Linked DNA regions of Homo sapiens: region 2 is linked to region 1. The links are contacts of gene promoters, found by promoter capture Hi-C in blood cells and fetal thymus (Javierre and others, 2016). All regions are on one chromosome and are shown on one strand. The core of a region is centred on a gene start or on the middle of the fragment in contact, and the rest is flanking DNA. Distances in the headings are between cores, read along the strand shown. Region 1 holds the start of TG (thyroglobulin). Region 2 overlaps TG (thyroglobulin).

Evidence for each region. The method cuts DNA at HindIII sites, captures the fragments that hold promoters and counts their contacts. A CHiCAGO score of 5 or more calls a contact.
Region 2: a fragment that was not itself captured here is called in contact with the fragment with the promoter of TG in region 1 in 2 of 17 cell types (M1 macrophages and M2 macrophages); the score reaches 5.6 in M1 macrophages.

What each region holds. Positions count from the first base shown.
Region 1 is chr8:132,865,708-132,868,695 of GRCh38, reverse strand. TG (thyroglobulin) reads right to left here and starts at 1,738. Exons shown (of 48, transcript NM_003235.5): 1 at 1,629-1,738; 2 at 473-581. The coding sequence starts at 1,695. The HindIII fragment of the contact is 3,355 bases long and covers 1,181-2,988 here.
Region 2 is chr8:133,098,960-133,102,290 of GRCh38, reverse strand. The region is part of intron 43 of TG (thyroglobulin); the gene reads right to left. The region is part of intron 1 of SLA (Src like adaptor); the gene reads left to right. Among named protein-coding and RNA genes, the nearest start is that of SLA, 2.0 kb to the left of the region's middle. The HindIII fragment of the contact is 3,803 bases long and covers 1-3,243 here.

The DNA.
Region 1 (2,988 bases), core at 489-2,988:
CAGCCTAGAGAGCTAGTCCGGGCAGGGTCGGTGGCAGCTAAGGACTAGGAAGTCAAGGCAGCCTCTGCTTCCACCACCCCAGCTTCTCAAGAGGATACTTGGAGGAGGGAGAGGTCCCAAAGCACAGATCATTTGACACTCTCCTCAACCTGCCCCACTCCCCACACGTGCCGTTTATTCAAGCCATCACAGAAAAAGTGATGGCAAGAAGAGAAGGGAGGGCAGTGGGAGGATGAAGCATGGATTGGGGTTCACTTGGTCAGATTGTCCAGTGTTGAACAGCTTGGGGAACTGAAAGGCAGGCACCTCCAAATGACAGTGGAACTGAAAGGCAGGCACCTCCAAATGACAGTGGCCAAGCCTCACATGCACAAAGGAGTTGCAGGGCAGAGCTCAGGAAGAGGGGGGAAGGCACAAGATGCTTTTTATGGCATCTTGGACCTTGAGAGTTCGCTGCTGACATAAGCCTTACTGGAAGCTGCCATCCTCTGCACACTGGGGCACGTAGTCTGCTTGCTTCAGAAAGGCCGTTTCCCTCTGCAGCTCACAGGGACGAAGGGGCTGGGCATCCACCTGGTACTCTAGGAAAAGAAAAGTGGTTCATCAAAGAAGAGTGTGGACTGGGCTGCCAGGACAGAGACGGGCTCTCATAAGCACAGATGCTTTTCCAGGGTCATCATCATTACCTATGACAGCCTATTTTAAAATTTGGCAGCTAAGCACACTTTCTTACAAGTATGACATTAGCTCATTTAATGTGCAACATTCTCCTAAGAGGTGACAGGCAATATATCCTTGTCACTCATGAGGCACCAAGTCTCAGGCAGCGAAAGTCGTCTGCCCAAAGTCACGTAACTGGCAAGTGAAGGATCCCAAAATCAACGCTGGGACTACACGTTCCCCGCCCGCCCCCACCCTGCCGCAATTCCCATGAGGCTATTTGGAGTAAGTTAGAGAACCGTAAGGAAGTTCTTCTTGAATCTATCAAGCCATGCCCTGCAGATGTAACATGTTCCAGATAAACATTGAAATACCAATTAATTAATAATGTACATGACTTATTTTTCCATTGAGAACTCTTGTAACACATAGGGTCCTACCCAGAAATCACAACCGCATCATGAGGTGTGTGTTATTTGTTTACTTTTTAAATGAAAAAAAAAAAAAAAAAACAGAAGCTTGGCACTTTGCCCGAAGTCATATGGGTAAGTGGCTGAGCCAAAGACAGAACTTAGGGCTATTTCACTTCATAGGTAGATTTCTTTTTCTACTGCTTCTAAAATACCTGTTATGGATGACACAGACTTTGGAATAGCTAAGGGGATAAAAACCCAAGGTCAATGCCAAAAGTTTGCCAAAATGGTGGGGTGAGGAGGACCTAGAATTGAATTAGGAAGATCAACCACATTTCCCATTTCTGCTCCATCAATCACTAGCTCTGTGACCTCAAGTAATTCAGTTCGGCTCTCTAAATCTGCCTCTTCATCTGAAAAAAAAAAAGCAAATCACTGACATGTGGGAATTTGTGAAGATTAAATTAGATCGCACCTGTTCGAAGGCCCAGGGCAGAGCCTGGCTGACACTGGAGCTCCCTCCCCACCGCCTGGCTCCATGGCCTCAGAACTTACCGAAGATATTGGCCGACACCCAGCAGATGGAGGCCAGCAGGGTGAAGATCTCCAGGACCAGGGCCATTTTCCTGGCCCTTCCTGGGAGGAAGGAGGAGAAACCACTGCTTGCCCTAGGTCCCCTGGCCAGGGAGCTTTTATAGAGCTGCCGTTGGCACTTTCCTTCCCACCCCCAGGTCCTCAGTGAGGCAGTGCCCCATCCTGTTTTCTCTGCTGGTCAAAAGGAGCTCCCTCCACCTGTGTCTACTCCTCCTGAGGGCACTCGTGTGGCCAGTGGAGCATGAGGATCTTGTCTAAACTGTGGGGGAACAGAACGGGGTGGGGTGACTTCAAAATCCTTTTTTATGGGTAAAGACCAAAGCTCTGTATCTTTGGAGGGAACAGGCTCAAGCCCACAGTGAGGGAAAAGCAATCCTTTGTTCTTTCCTTCCCCACCCTACCCTTTCTCCTTCTCCTTCCTCCTTCCTTCTTTCCTTTCTTCCTTTCTTTCTTCTTTCCTTCCTTTCTCCCTTCTATCCTTCTTTCCTTTCATTCTTCCTTCTTTCTTTCCTTCCTTCCCTCTTTCTTTTCTTTCTTCCTTCTTTCCTTCCTTCCTTCTTTTCTTTCTTCTATTCTTTCTCTAACAACCTCTTAGAGCTCCACAGTAGCAGGCACCTAATCTAGACAATGAGGATATGGCAGAGAACAAAACAGGCAAAATCGTGCCCTCATTAATATAGACTGTGAAAACTTTGGTGAGGGAAGCAAAATACACACACACTCATATTCATATTTCTATTACTTTCCTCTCTTTCCTAGGACCTCAGACTTTGTCAACCAAAAGATAGCAGGAACTGTGTATTCCACAGAAAGCCTGTATGTCCATTTGGTTTCTCCTGGCAAACATGGCTTCCTTCCTTCAGTCCTGTTCCTGTGAGACCTGGAAAAACTCACCTCATCTCCCTGAGCCCCAGCCTCCTTCTCTGGAAAGCAAAGTTAAAAGGAGAATAATAATATGTCCCTATTTGTTAAGGTAGTTGTAAGAGAATAGACATTGAAGAGCACATGCTTATTAGACACTAGCAGTTATTATTATTATTATTGATTTTCTTATTTTGCAAAAGCATCATGCCAGGGAATGGCAAGTATTCAGAAGACCAATCCAGCCAGGTAAGGAGCTAGTGACAGATAGGGTCAGGAACTGGCAGGTAATGAGGGCAGGTTGCTGAGCCTGGCACCTGAGGAGAGATGGAGGGACCTGTGAGAATCTGGAGGATATGGTCCCGGGTAGAGTGAAGGGCAGGAGGACAAGCTGGAAAGTGGAAGAGACTCCAAACCCTGGGGAAAATAAAGGGGCCGATATAGCTGCCGTGCCGTAGAC
Region 2 (3,331 bases), core at 93-2,592, 230 kb before region 1:
TACTTATGCAGCGTTGGCATGAGTAGAGAGCATGCATTTGTGTTTACTACAATTTGGAAAATTGGTCTCAGGTCAGCTGAGGTGGTTCAGAGATTGGACGTTCTTTGTATTCCTGCTTTCTGTGTATAATTATCTGAAGAAGGGATAACAGCTTTGGACACTAATCTTAATATTAAAATTAAAAAATTAAGGGAAAAGAACGAACATTTATTGAAGCCAAACTATTTTCCAGATATTGTTGTGTATTTGAATTTTTGAACATCTTTATGAGGATATTTACTAATCATCTCCCAACTTCACAGATAGGGAAACTGAGGCTCAGACTCTGGGTAACTTGGATGCTCGTGATTGCAATCCAAGGACACCCAGGACACTCTCCCTGCTGTGTTGACACATGACCAAGGGAGCGGGGTCCTGGTCAGTTCCTGGCCATTGTGTCACTCCAGCTGACAGTGCTGCTATGGGGCCCAATGGCACCTGATCTCCACCTCCTGAGGTCTTGGAATAGATGTCCATCTCTCCATATAGTATGTATCAATGGTGTTTCAGTTGTTTGCCTTGTCTGTTATCATCTGACTGCAAGCCCTTCTGAGGGGAGGAATTCAATTTGTATTTTATGCTGAAACACCTGGCCCAGCATGACTAAACAAACAGGTGTTGGTGTTACAAAAACATGCTGGACACCCTGTTTAGGTGGATGTGGCAATTTACTGCAATTGATATGTCCTGTTTCTCAGCCCCAGATGGGGCAGGAGGGGCTGGGTGGGTATCAAAGGACAGAGGATGGAGTAAAAGGCATGGCTGAGATTGAGGCCCTCCAGAACCTGCCATCTTCAGGTCCTCCTTGGCTGATGGTGGTTGGACCCAGGTGCCATGGAGCCTTCTTGGGGCAAACAGAGAAATGCACAAGCCCAACTCTAAATTCAGGTTGGGAGTGGGCTGAGGCAAGGGAGGGCAATACAAGGGCACATTGGGTTGAAGTCCAGAGGAGTTTCCTCACTGTTGGGAGGGTGGGAGCATAGCTCATAACTCAGTTTCCACTTGGTTGTCCACTGTGCCCTCTTGCAGTTCTGTGTGGGGTAGAATCCTGAGGATCTCTCTAGGTGATGCTTGCGTATGGTGGGGGTAAGGTGGTGATAGCGCATCCCTGACCTAGTGTTTATCACAGATAGGGTAATGGGTAGAGCCTGCCACCCGCCACCCTCCCCACTCCTGCCCTGCAATTGGGGTCAGAGACCTGCAGTGGAGACTTGGCTTTCCAAAGGACTAGTTAGCTGACCTAGAGACACCCGGTAAACCTCACTAAGCCTTTCTTTCCCAGAAAAAAAATCGTGTTAAATACTGGTTCATGGTTCCCTACCTCACAGCCATACAGTTGAGATAACGTAAAGTAAGAGCATGAGTTACTTCACTTAGGCTAACCCCTAAGGCTATTGAAATTTTAAAATTATAAATAAATCAATAAATGACTACAGAAAAAAAAGAATGTGGGTAGAATTGGAAAGCCCTTTGCACATAGTAGCCTTTATTCTAGCTGGGTTTGTGTACATTTCAGTACCCAGCATACCGTTGATGGTAGATGGAAGGCTCTCAGAGGAAAGCCTGGCTTTTCCCAGAGTGACGTCATGGGAAGAGGATATTTGGAGGCAGATAGAACTGGGTTTTAATTCTGGTTTCTCTCTGAAAAATAGTAATAATAATCCCCACCTCATAGGGTAATAGTTGTGAGGGTGAATTATTTCATTGAAGACTTCCAGGTTAGGGCCCAGCACATAGTCAGTTCTTCATAATTTCATTCATTCATCCTAGTGAATGTCTATTGTGTGCCTGCTGTGTGCAATTTGTCTAGCAGAACTAGAAACATTTCTAGGCACCAGAGATATAGCAGTTTCAAACATTCTAGTTGGGGAAGAAAGACAACAGACAAATACATAATATGGCAGGAGGTTTGAGTGCTGGGGTAGGGTGTAGGATGTAGGGATAGAGAAGGCTGGGGATATGGCTTCCCTCTGAATCCAAGTGGTCAAGCAAGGTCTTTCTGATAAGCAGACCCTGAAGGGAGTAAGGCAGTGAGTTGTCTGGGAAGAACATTCCAGAAGAAAAAACAGCAAGTACCAGGACCCTGATATGGGATGTGCTCAGCCTATTTGAGAAACTCTAAAGGGATAAACCAGTGAGCCAAGAGGGAACAGCAGGAGTTAAGGTCAGAGAGCTAACAGAGGTCACATCAAATAGGCTCTGGCAGTTCATAGAAGACTGGAATTTTCCTCTGCATGAGAGGAGGCCACTGGAGAGAAGGCTTGGAGCAGAGGAGTAAAATGGTCTGACTTATAAAGGGATTGCTCTGGCTACTGTGCTTCTCATAGATTATAAGAGGCAAGGCAGGTGCAGAGAGAGAGTTGGGGGCTAGCACAAAAATCTCAAATAAAGTGGCTGGATCAGGGTGATAGCAGAAGAGGTAGGGGAGCAGGGTTTGGATTTGGGATACATTTGGAAAATACAGCCAGCTGGATTTTCTGATAGAATGCTGGTAGGGTATGAGAGAGCAGTGTCAGGAATGACTTTTGGTTTTGAGCCTGAGTACAGAAGGATGAGTTGTTTAGTTGCTGAGTTGTTTACTGAGATGGTGAAGACTACAGAAGAACATGCTGGTTGGGGATGGGAGCAGAGGTGGAATCGGCAGTCCACTTTGGGTGTGTTATGGATGAGACACTATGAGACATGTAAGTGAAGATGTCAAGTGGGCCATTGGCTAAACCAGTTCAGAGTTCAAGGGAAAAGTCCAGGAGGAATAAATCTGTGTGCAGACACATGTTTAGGAGATGATTGCATGCAGTGGCACTGAGCTGTGAGCTGGCTTCCAGTCCCACCGTCACTACTCTCCTGCTGCAGGTAGTCCTCCTCATCAATTAGCACCTAGATGAGTTCTTGGCAGGATGCAGGCTCACAAAAGCTGCTCAGTGGCTTCACTAATGCGTGTCCCAAGGGAATGAATGAAGAAGCGAAGCCAGAAACGAACGGTCTAACCAATGAACAAATGTGCTGGGGGAACACTGCCCTGTGATTGGTGTCTGGGATGACCGCCATGGAGCAGGGCTAGCAGCTGCTCTGCTGTGCCCTTAGAGAGGCTTCTCTATTTGGGGGTGCCCAACTTCAATGCTGGCTTCTCCAGCCAGGCCCCTGTTTGGCAGTGAGCCTCCTGCTGGTGGCCCCATCTTTCTTTGCAAGTAAACAAAGTAAGCTTTCCTTAAAAACCTTAGAGGGAAGCTCAATGAGAAGAATGCAAATGCATCCTTGAGTAGAGATCCCAGTCCTCTGGATTCAGGTCTCT